Linked DNA regions of Homo sapiens: all the other regions are linked to region 4. The links are contacts of gene promoters, found by promoter capture Hi-C in blood cells and fetal thymus (Javierre and others, 2016). All regions are on one chromosome and are shown on one strand. Each heading gives the region's core, a stretch centred on a gene start or on the middle of the fragment in contact. The rest is flanking DNA. Distances are from core to core; before and after follow the strand shown. Region 1 overlaps PYHIN1 (pyrin and HIN domain family member 1). Region 2 overlaps PYHIN1 (pyrin and HIN domain family member 1). Region 3 has its middle 18 kb from the start of PYDC5. Region 4 holds the start of CD1A (CD1a molecule).

Evidence for each region. The method cuts DNA at HindIII sites, captures the fragments that hold promoters and counts their contacts. A CHiCAGO score of 5 or more calls a contact.
Region 1: a fragment that was not itself captured here is called in contact with the fragment with the promoter of CD1A in region 4 in 1 of 17 cell types (endothelial precursors); the score reaches 7.0 in endothelial precursors.
Region 2: a contact is called between a fragment that was not itself captured here and the fragment with the promoter of CD1A in region 4, in 1 of 17 cell types (endothelial precursors). The highest score is 6.8, in endothelial precursors.
Region 3: a contact is called between a fragment that was not itself captured here and the fragment with the promoter of CD1A in region 4, in 3 of 17 cell types (endothelial precursors, total CD4 T cells and naive B cells). The highest score is 5.7, in endothelial precursors.

The regions. Positions count from the first base shown.
Region 1 is chr1:158,964,377-158,967,544 of GRCh38, forward strand. The region is part of intron 7 of PYHIN1 (pyrin and HIN domain family member 1); the gene reads left to right. Among named protein-coding and RNA genes, the nearest start is that of PYHIN1, 34 kb to the left of the region's middle. The HindIII fragment of the contact is 2,926 bases long and covers 51-2,976 here.
Region 2 is chr1:158,942,067-158,945,136 of GRCh38, forward strand. It overlaps PYHIN1 (pyrin and HIN domain family member 1), which reads left to right. Exons shown (of 9, transcript NM_152501.5): 5 at 1-333; 6 at 1,724-1,912; 7 at 2,809-2,976. Among named protein-coding and RNA genes, the nearest start is that of PYHIN1, 12 kb to the left of the region's middle. The HindIII fragment of the contact is 525 bases long and covers 1,308-1,832 here.
Region 3 is chr1:158,982,834-158,985,723 of GRCh38, forward strand. It overlaps a transcript of PYHIN1 not described here. Among named protein-coding and RNA genes, the nearest start is that of PYDC5, 18 kb to the right of the region's middle. The HindIII fragment of the contact is 1,925 bases long and covers 653-2,577 here.
Region 4 is chr1:158,252,789-158,255,759 of GRCh38, forward strand. It overlaps CD1A (CD1a molecule), which reads left to right and starts at 1,636. Exons shown (of 6, transcript NM_001763.3): 1 at 1,636-1,939; 2 at 2,296-2,562. The coding sequence starts at 1,882. The HindIII fragment of the contact is 5,152 bases long and covers 1-2,971 here.

The sequences.
Region 1 (3,168 bases), core at 264-2,763, 710 kb after region 4:
ATCCTGTGAGATACTACACAAAAAGACCATCCCCAAGACACATAATCATAAGCTTTTCCAAGGTCGAAATGAATTTAAAAATGTTAAAGACAGCTAGAGAGAAGGGGCAGGTCACTGGGAAGGTCACCTACAAAAGGAACCCTATCAGACTACAGCAGAACTTTCAACAGGAGCCTGACAAGCCAGAAGAGCTTGGGACCTATATTCAGCATTCTTAAAGAAAATAATTTCCAAGCAAGAATTTCACATACAGCCAAACAAAGCATCAAAAATGAAAAAGAAATGAGATCCTTTTCAGACAAGCAAATGCTGAGGGAATTTGTTACCACCAGACCTGCCTTATAAGAGATACTGAAAGGAACACTAAGTATGAAAAGGAAAGAACATTACCAGACACTACAGAAACACAATTAAGTACACAGAATAGTGACACTATGAAGCAACCACAGAAACAAGTCTGCATAATAATCAGCTAACAACACAATGACAGGATCAAATCTGCAGATGTCAATATTAACCTTTAATGTAAACAGGCTACACACTCCACTTAAAAGTCACAGAGTGGCAGGCTGGATAAAGAAGCAAGACCCAATGGTATACTGTCCTCAAGAGACCTGTCTCACATGCAATGACACCCATTGGCTCAAAATAAAAGGACAAAGAAAAATCTACCAAACAAATAGAAAGCAGAAAAAAAAAACAGAGGGTGCCATCATAATTTCAGAAAAAACAGACTTTAAACCAACAAAGAGTTAAAAAGACAAAGAAGGGCATTTCATAATGGTAAAGGCTTTCATTCAACAAGAAGACCTAACTACCTTGAATATATACACACACAACACAGGAGCACCTAGACTCATAAAACAAGTTCTCAGAGACCCACAAAGAGACTTAGAGTCACATACAATAATAGTGGGAGACTTCAATACCACACTGGCAGTATTAGATCGATCATTCAGGCAAACAAAAAAAAATAGCAAAGATATTCAGGAACTGCACTCAATACTTGACAAGATGGACCTAATGGACATTTATGGAACTCTCAACCTAAAACAATGGAACACACATTCTTCTTACTGCCACATAGCACACACTCTGAAGTCGACCACACGATCAGATATAAAACAATCCTCAGCAAATTCAAGAAAACAGAATCATACCAACCACCTTCTCAGAACACAGTGCATAAAAGTATAAATCTATAGTAAGAAAATGGCTCCAACCATACAATTACATGGAAATTAAACAGCCTTCTCCTGAATGACTTTTGGGTGAATAATAAAGGCAGAAATAAAGAAATTCTTTGAAACTAATGAGAACAAAGATAAAATACATCAGAATCTCTGGGACATTGCTAAGTCAGTCTTAAGAGAGAGGTTTGTAGCACTAAGCGCTCACATCAAAAAATTTAAAAGATCTCAAATTAACAACCCAACATCACAACTAGAAGAACTAGAAAAGCAAGAACAATCAATCCCCAAGCCAGCAGGAGAAAAGAAATAACCAATATCAGAGCTAAACTAAAAGAAATTGAGATGTGAAAAAAACAGACAAAGATCAACGAATCCAGGAGTTCATCTGTTGAAAAAATTAATAAGAAAGATTGCTAGATAGACTAAAAAAAGAGACAAGATCTAAATAAACACAATTAGAAATGACCAAGGGAAATTACCACTGACCCCACAGAAATACAACAATCCTTCAGAGACTACTATAATCACCTCTATGCACACAAGCTATAAAACCTAGAAGAAATGGATAAATTCCTAGACACATACAACCTCTGAAGACTAACCCAGGAGGAAACTGAATAACTGAATAGACCAATAACAAGTTCTGAAATTGAATCAGTAAGAAAAAGTCTACCAACTAAAAGTAGCCCATGACCAGATGGATTCACAGCCAAATGCTATCAGATGCATAAAGATGAGCTGGTACCATTCCTACTAAAACTATTCAAAAAACTGGGGAGGAGGGACTCCTCTCCAATTCATTCTATGAGGCCAGCATCATCCTGATAACAAAAGGCAGAGACACAACAAAAAAAGAAAACTTCAGGTGGTTATTCTTGATGAACATACATGCAAAAATCCTCAAAAAAATACAAGTAAACAAAATCTAGCAGTACTTCAAAAAGCTAGTCCAACACAATCAAGTAGGCTTTATCTCTGGAATACAAAGTTACATATACAAAACAATAAATGTGGTTCATCACATAAACAGAACCAAAAAGCTACATAATCATCTCAATCGATGCAGAAACAGCTTTCAATAAAATGCAACATCCCTTCATGTTAAAAACCCTAAATACTCTAGACATTGAATGAACATACTTCAAAATAATAAGAACCATTTCCAACAAACCCACAGCCAACATCATACTTTATGGACAAAAGCTAGAAGCACTCCCCTTGAAAACTGGAACAAGACAAGGATGGCCTCCCTCACCATTCCTATTCAATAGAGTACTAGAAATCCCGGCCAGAGGAATCAGGCAAGATAAAGAAATAAAAGGCATCCAAGTAGGAAAAGAGAAAGTCAAACTATCACTTTTTGCAGATGACAAAATCCTGTATTTAGAAAAACCCATAGTCTCTGCAGAAAAGCTCTTTGATCTCATAAACAACTTCAGCAAAGTTTCAGGATACAAAATCAATATACAAAAATCAGTACACATTCCTATAAACCAACAACATCCAAGCTGAGAGTCAAAACAGGAATGCAATTCCGTTCACAATTGCCACAAAAATTGACAAAAGGATTTATTGTATTCATCAAGGTTGGAAATCACCATACTACATTTTTTTCTAGAGCAGGCTATTTGTGGGATGAGAGGGTTTTCTTAGAATGTAGTCTGTTTTGTATATTGTGTCTTATGTGACAGGCACTGTGTACATCACTTTGGATCCATTTTTCTCATAATCTTCAAATCAAAATAATGAGGCAATCATTTCATTTTTTACATAAGGAAACTGAAGCTTGGAGAGGTTAGGCAATCACAGAGAGGCTAACCAAGGAGGTAGTTATTAACAATAAGAATTACAAAACACTGCTCAAAGAAATGAAGGAACACAAACAAATAGGAAAAGTTCCATGCTCATGGATAGGAAAAATCAATATTATTAAAAATGGCCAGATTTCCCAAAGCAATGTACAGATTCAATGCTA
Region 2 (3,070 bases), core at 320-2,819, 690 kb after region 4:
AAAGTATTTAAATATGAATCCTCAGAAAATGAGCAAAGAAGAATGTTTCATGCTACAGTGGCTACGCAGACACAGTTCTTTCATGTGAAGGTTTTAAACATCAACTTGAAGAGGAAATTCATTAAAAAGAGAATCATCATTATATCAAATTATTCCAAACGTAATAGTCTCCTAGAGGTGAATGAAGCCTCTTCTGTATCTGAAGCTGGTCCTGACCAAACGTTTGAGGTTCCAAAGGACATCATCAGAAGAGCAAAGAAAATTCCGAAGATCAATATTCTTCACAAACAAACTTCAGGATATATTGTATATGGATTATTTATGCTACATACGGTAAGGCATCAAAGCTATTTTGTGGCATTTTCTACAATAACACTTGAAATTAAAAGCCCTGATGTGCTAAATGGAAGTTTGCATATTACTTAACATTAAAACTCAGGACTCTCTCAAAACTACTGACAAGTAGATAAAGTCTTCTTCGAGGTTAAGACCAGGATTAGGAGAACTATTAATGTTCTCATTCTTTCCAAAATATCACCCTGAAGTTCTTTAGTAAAACATTCACTGAGAAACCTTGAGACTTCATCAGCTGTGACTATCTATTATGAGTCATAACGATCAAAGATAGTGAGGGATCTAGATCCATACAAACATAATACTAAACTTATTTCTTTGATTATAATCTCAATTGTAGCAAAAATCACATTGTTTTCATTTTGAATACAGTATTGTTCTTTGAGGCTTGAGTTCCAGTTTTGACAATCAGGGCAAGAAATGAATTGACTGTTTATACCTGGAAATCAATTGCAGTAAACAGGTAGGACAATGTTCTGACCAAATGAAATGCATTCATCAAAAAGTATTGAAGGGCTGAGAAATATAAATTTGGGTGATACTTGGAGAATCAGGTAATCTGTACTCGTATATTAGATATGTCGCAAAAAAAGAGCAGAAAAAATTTTCTGATATGTTACTGTCAAAATTCACGAAACTAGTTAGCTTGAGACATTCCAACTCAGAAAACCATCTATACCTGGCTATTGAGTCCAGTAATTTCTTAGATGACTGACAGCTCATGATCTGTTATATTTATTTTCTAGAATGACCTCTTATTTTACCAGCATTGCTTTCTGTACACACTCTTAAAGAAATTCTTAGAAATACACATCCAGAACGATGAGTAATAGCCTTGATGAGCAAGAAATTGGAATGTTTGAGCTTAAGGACCTGAGTTCAGGATGGGAGCAGATGTTGAAAGAGATTCAGTAAATGGAGAAAGTCAAAAAAGTAATTAGATAGTTACTAGAAGCTTGTTTTTTATTACAGATTCCTCATAACATAGTGAATGATGAGTTGTGACAGATGCCCATTCTTTTTGCATAGGGGCAGAGGCCAAATAAGCCTACCAAGGACTTCAGTTTCCTTTGTATCAAGGTGCTTTGGGAAGCATAGCAGTCTTGGAGGTGAAAGAAGTTGAAAATGGGAAGATAACTCATTGCTCTAGAACTGTAATAGAAATACTTAGAACATTAAGGACTTAAACAAAAAGGATATTGAGGGAGAGCTCTGTGAGATGGTCTAGACTAAGGCATATGTATTGTATGTCGATACAGTACTAGGAGTTGCTGTCTTGCATCTTGTTTTTAATCTGTCACAAGAGACTTTCCTATATGCACGGTAGTTACTATGTTCTCACAAACATGATATTAATTTTTTGTTGCAGAAAATTGTAAATAGGAAGACGACAATCTATGAAATTCAGGATAAAACAGGAAGTATGGCTGTAGTAGGAAAAGGAGAATGCCACAATATCCCCTGTGAAAAAGGAGATAAGCTTCGACTCTTCTGCTTTCGACTGAGAAAGAGGGAAAATATGTCAAAACTGATGTCAGAAATGCATAGTTTCATCCAGGTGAGAAATAAAGAAACAAATATTAGTTTTCCAAAGATGAAAATCATTTGCTTTAAGTTTTAGGAAGCCATACTTCTGTTGTTTTACACTTAAAATTCTGCAGAGTTCATGAGAAACCAAATAATGCCCTTGCGCTTACATTTAAATAGAGAAAATTATTAAAATATATTAAGAGATGGACAATTATCTTCTTCAAAAAGACATGAAACTTGTGCTAAATATTAAAATATTTGAAGAAACTAGGAGGCCACGGGCCTAATTGCAGTTAGTTATCAAAACCAAGTTCTTTGCAGTAAGATAGGCTTGGTATATATCTTGCTCATTGGTTGCATGATATTGGAGAAATAGCTTACATGTTCCTCACACAATTGGTTTGAAAATTAAATGAGATCATGGATATACATTTTGTAGCCCATTGCCTTCCTTGTACCTTGTGACAAACCAGTATGCACTAGATACTACTGCTCTTAACAAGGTAAAGACAGACATTGGAAAGACTTCAGGCAGAGAAAATGTTGCATACAAACATTAAAAGTGAGAAAAAGCATAGTGAGTTCTGTACAACTTTGGCATATGTGGAAAGGTATGAGAAATTCATGCAAGACAGGTAACAAGCAGCCCTTTTCTCATCTGTCTTATGCCATAAAGACAAAAATGGATTTCATTTTAAAAAATAAGTGAATAAAGATTTTATTTTACTAAGAATGTTAGATCATTTTACATTTTAGCAAAAAAATATATTGGCAGTTGCCTGGAGGAATACATTAGATAGAGGCAATCTTTGAAGGTAATGACATCTATTAGAATTTAATAAAGGATGATATTCTCACATATTTAAAGATGTTTTGCTTTCCCTAATATTAAAAAACATTAAACAAAAAAATGAATACTTTCAGATACAGAAAAATACAAACCAGAGAAGCCATGACTCCAGGAGCATGGCACTACCCCAGGAACAGAGTCAGCATCCAAAACCTTCAGAGGCCAGCACAACCCTACCTGAAAGCCATCTCAAGACTCCTCAGATGCCACCAACAACCCCATCCAGCAGTTCCTTCACCAAGGTACAATATCCTGGGTCCCATGACTCTTATCTCCCAAATATAAATTACAAGGATCATTAGATTGTTGAAAGAGTTTCTCTTCTAATCCCTAACT
Region 3 (2,890 bases), core at 365-2,864, 730 kb after region 4:
TCTTGTTGTAGAAATCTTTTACCTCCCAGGTTAGCTGTATTCCTATGTGTTTATTCTTTGTGTGGCTATTGTGAAAGGAACTATGTTCTTGGTTTGGCTTTCAGCTTGGGTATTATTAGTTGTATAGAAATGCTACTAATTTTTGTACATTGATTTTGTATCCTGAGACTTTGCTGAAGTTGTTTATAATTTCTGGGAAATTTGGGGCAAAGGCTATGGGGTTTTCTGGGTATAGAATCATATTACCTGCAAAAGGAGGTAGTTTGACTTCCTTTCTTTCTATTTGGACGTCTTTTATTTTTTTTTCTCTTGCCTGACTGCTCTGGCTAGAACTTCCAGTGCTATGTTGAACCAGGAGTAGTGAGAGTAGGCAACTTTGTCTTGTTCTGGTTCTCAAGAGGTATGATTTCAGCTTTTGCCTATTTGTGATATGATGTTGGCTGTGGTTTTGTCATAGATGTCTCATTTTGAGGTATGTTCCTTTGATACCTAGTTTGTTGAGGGTTTTTAACATGAAAGAATGTTGAATTTATTGAAACCTTTTCTGCATCTATTTAGATAATCACGTGATTTTTGTTTTTAGTTCTGTTTATGTGATAAATCACATTTACCAATTTGCGTATGTTGAACCAACTTTGCATTCCAGGGGTAAAGCTTACTTGATCATGGTGGCTTAGCTTTTGCTGTGCTGCTGGATTTAGTTTGCTAGTATTTTTTTTTGAGGACTTTTGCATCAATATTTATCAGGCATATTGTCCTGAATTTGTTTTTCCTTTGTGTTTCTGTCAGGTTTTGGTATCAGAATAATGCTGACCTCATAGAATGATTCAGGGCAGAGTCTCCGCTCCTCAATATTTTGGAATAATTTTGGTAGGATTGGTATCAGCTCCTCCTTATCTATCAGGTAGAATTCAGATGTGAATCTGTCTGATCCATGGCTTTTGTTGGTTTGTAGGTATTTTATTATGGATTCAATTTCAGAACTTGTTATTGATCTGTTTAGGTATTCAATGTCTTCCTGGTTCAATCTTGGCAGGTTGTATGTTTTCAGGAATTTATCTGTTTCTTCTAGATTTTCTAGTTTTTCAGCATAGAAATTGTTCATAATGGTCTTTGAGAGTTTTTGTATTTCTGTGGGTTCCATGGTAATGTCCCCTTTGTCATTTCTAATTGTATTTATTTGGATCTTCTCCTGTTTTTTTTTTTTTTTTTGTATATTAATCTGGCTAGTGGTCTATATATCTTATTCTTTCAAAAAACCAATTTTTAGTTTTCTTAATTATTTTTGTGAATTTTCACATCTCAATTTTATTTGGTTCAACTTAGATTTTGATTATTATTTTTCTTCTGCTAGTTTGGGGGTTGGTTTCCTTTTGTTTTTTCTAGTTCCTGTAAATGTGATGTTAGGTATAAATTTAAGATATTTCTGACTTTTTGATGTAGGCCTTTAGTGCTATAAACTTTTCTCTTAACACTGCTTTAGCTGTGTCCCAGAGACTCTGATATATTGTATTTTTGTTTTCATTAGTTTCAAAGATTTCTTGATTTCTGCATTAATTTAATTTATTACCCAAAAGTCATTCAGGAGTAAGTTGTTTAATTTCCAAATACTTCTATGATTTTCAGAGATCTTCTTGGTATTGATTTGTATTTTTGTTGCACTGTGATCTGAGAGTGTGGTTGATATAATTTCTGTTTTTTGAATTTCCTGAGCATTGCTTTATGGCCAAGCATGTGGCCAAGCATGTGGCACAGAGTATGTGCCATGTGCAGATGAGAAGAATGTATATTCTGTTGTTGAGTGGAATGTTCCTTATATGTCTGTTAGGTCAATTTAGTCAAGTGTGAAATTTTGTTCCTGAATATCTTTGTTAGTTTTCTCCCTCAATGATTTATCTAACAATGTTAGTAGGGTGTTGTATTCTCCCACTATTATTGTGAGGTTAGCTAGTTCTCTTCATAGGTCTCTAAGAACTTGTTTTATGAATCTGGTTGTGCCAGTGCTGAATGCACACATCTTTAGGATAGTTAAGTCTTGTTTGTAGAATTGAACTTTTTATCATTATGTGATGCCCTTCTTCATCCTCTTTGATAGCTTTTGGTTTAAGGTCTGTTTTTTTTTTCCTGAAATAAAAGAGCAACCCCTGCTCTATTTTGTTTGTTTTCCATTTGCTTTATAGATATTCCTCCATCCATTTAATTTAAGCCTGTGTCTTTACATGTAAGGTGGGTCTCTTGAAGACAGCATGTAATTGAGTCTTGCTTCTTTATCCAACTTACCATTCTGTGCCTTTTAAGTGGAGTGGTTAGCCTGCTTATGTTCAAGGTTAATATTGATATGTAAGGATTTGATCCTGTCATAGTGTTATTAGCTGGTTGTTATGTAGACTTGATTGTATAGTTGCATATTGTGTCAGTGGAATATTTACTTAAGTGTGTTGTTTTGTGGCAGGTAGCAGCCTTTTGTTTCCATGTTCAGCACTCCCTGAAGGACCTCTTATAAGGCAGGCCTAATGGTAACAAATTCGCTTAGTGTTTGTTTGTCTGAAAAGGATTATGTTTCTTTTTCACTTACAAAGCTTGGTTCGGCTGGATATGAAATCATGGTTAGAATTTCTTTTGTTTAAGAATGCTGAATGTAGGCCTTTAATCTTTTCTGGCTTGAAAAATTTCTGCTGAAAGGTCCACTGTTAGTGTGATAAGGGTTCCCTTTGTACATGATCTGCCTCTTCTCTTTTGCTGCCTTTCATATGTTTTATTTACCTTGATCTTGGAGAATTGGATAACTATGTGTCTTAGGGATTGTCATCTTGTGTAATATCTTGCTGGGGTACTCTGAATTTCCTGAATTTACATGTCAACCTCTCTAGCAAGGTCAGGTAAATTTTCA
Region 4 (2,971 bases), core at 386-2,885:
TTGCAAAACCGAGGCAGGACAATTGCTTTAACCTGGGAGGCAGAGGTTGCAGTGAGCTGAGATCATGCCACTGAACTCCAGCCTGGGTGACAGAGTGAGACTCTGTCTCAAAACAAAACAAAACAAAACAAAACAAAAAACAAATAAAAAAATTATTTGCAGGCCATGCCTGGTGGCTCATGCCAACAATCCCAGCACTTTGGGAGGCTGACACAGGAGGATTGCTTGAGGCCGGGAGTTGGAGGTTACAGTGAGCTATGATTATTCCACTGCACTCCAGCCTGAGTAACAGAGTGAAACCCTGTCTCAAGAAAAAAAATTTTTTCCCCCTAAATTAGCTTCAGATACTTTTTTTTTGAAAACCAAAAAATAGTAAATAGCCCAGACACATTTATATGGATGATATCTACAAAGCACAAACATATATTTAGAAGCCCTTCAACAGTTACAAGCAGCGTAAAAGAGGAATGTAAATGTGTCCGGCAAAGACTCATTTATAACAAAACAACCCTGAAACATCCAAATAGGACTAATAAAAAGGGATCCTGGGATAAAGACTTTGGAATACTCCATTAACTTCACTGCTCACAAGTTCTGACTAGTTTCTTATAAGTAATAGGACATTTATAGCAGGATCTTTTATGTAAATCTCATGCCAGTAACTTGTACTTTTATCCTAAATAAAACTGTATGAGATTCTCATCTCACTACATAGGGTTACAAGTAACTTTTATGATATCTTTAAAAAGTTTCATGTTGAATATCACCTCCATAATTAAAAAATGGATGCATAGACTGAATTCATTCATTCATTTGACAAATATTCACTAAGCACCTACCACTTGTGAGATACTCTGTTAGGTGGGGATACAGTATGATAACTGTATGGAACTAACACTCCAAGTCAAACATTGAAGTCAAAATTCTGGGCTGGCGTACATTAGTTAGGAGCCCCCATTTTAGAAAATATTATTTCAAGCAGGCCTTGTTTTTATCCAGAGAGTGTATACAGTATAATAAAACTCAGTACACCAAGATTTATATTTCATGGCGTGTTTTTCTCCCTAAGTAGAGAAAAAGCTCCTTCAGTAAAGTGATTGTGTTGTCAACCACTGCATATTCTTAAGTGTACCAAGATGCTTGACTCCAGGCAGGTGCTAAGAGAGACTGTTGGGTGAGTGAATGTATATCAATGAAAATCAAACAGAGGAAATTTTCTTTATATGTTTTAGTGTTCCTGTGGTTTTTTTTTTTTTTTTTTTTTTTTTTTTTTTTTTTTTTTTTGTGATGGTTACTGGCTCTTCTCTAAGAATAATGGAGAAAAGGTGTTAGTTTGTACTGTCGCACAGGGCAGTCGTAGGAGACTCTGAAAAAGCAAATAAATCAATGTTAAATCAGAAATGTGAATGTAGTAAGGGGCTGAAGAGACAGGGGAAGAGAATACATGGGAAAATATTGAAAAGGACAGAGTGATCAAAAAGAGCAGGGACATGGGAGCATTGGGCAGCACACTGGGAGCCATTTCACTTTATGCTCTTATTGTATGATTGAGAAAAAAATGTCCTTAGTGGTTAAGTGGCTTTTCAATGCCACATCAGACTTGTTCCATAGCAGTTGAATTAGGGGAAGGTGAATAAGTTGGAGGTTGGTGACAAGGAGAGAAGCTGGAACAGAGAGGAGAGTCAGAACCAGAGGGAAATGAGAGACTGAGTAGGCATCTCAGGGTTTTTGAAGGAGTGGATTTTCTTTGTTGCAGTCAGGGGAGGTTTGTCTGTTGGCTGCAGAAAGAAGTCAGAATAGAGATATCGTGGGGTAGGTTTGTTTGGAACAGAAATCAAAGACCAATTTTTCTGAGAGAAGGAAATAACATCTGCAAATGATATGCTGTTTTTGCTACTTCCATTGTTAGCTGTTCTCCCAGGTGATGGCAATGCAGACGGTAAGAACTCTGACAACTGCCCAGTTGGGTGGTGGGTGAAGGTCTCTCTCTCTCTCTCTGTGTGTGTGTGTGTGTGTGTGTGTGTGTGTGTGTGTGTGTGTGTGTGGTTTCCCTAGCATATACCTGGAAAGTGAGAGTGCCAGGCTGGTTCCATTCTGACTATCCATGACTCCAGGTCCCTGAGCTCTTATGAAGGTGGTTGATAAGGCATGGGACTGTGTGGCAAGTGAATGTCTGCTAAGATCATGATGGATCCCCTTTTCTCCAGATTCTGAGTTCCCGCACTCTGGCACCTTTCTCTCTCCATCCTCTTTCTCAATGTCTTTCTCCCCATTCTATCTGTTCTTTTGTCGCAGGGCTCAAGGAGCCTCTCTCCTTCCATGTCACCTGGATCGCATCCTTTTACAACCATTCCTGGAAACAAAATCTGGTCTCAGGTTGGCTGAGTGATTTGCAGACTCATACCTGGGACAGCAATTCCAGCACCATCGTTTTCCTGTGCCCCTGGTCCAGGGGAAACTTCAGCAATGAGGAGTGGAAGGAACTGGAAACATTATTCCGTATACGCACCATTCGGTCATTTGAGGGAATTCGTAGATACGCCCATGAATTGCAGTTTGAATGTGAGTTCAGTTTTCTCCATGGAGAGTGGTGAGGTGGGAGAGAGGGGTTGTCTCAATGTTTCTTATTCCTTTAGGAAACAGCCTGACTCTCTTCTGTATCTTATTCTATTCTTTCCACCATAAAACTGCAATTGCATACTTTTGGGCAAGGGCTATCATCCAGACCTTAATTCTCCAAACACTTCTGCTACTTATGAACTCCTCTCTCATTGATTGCAGGGTTGTGCATTATTATCTTTTCTTACAGGTATCCCAGGACCACCCTTCTGCCTGCCCTACAACCAGATACCTTCAGCTTTCTCACTTTCTCATTCATTCTCTTCAGCAGTCTCTCTATATATACTCAATTGTAACCCATTGCATTTAATTCAACCTAAGTTGTTATAATCCCAGTTCTCTTACACCAGGT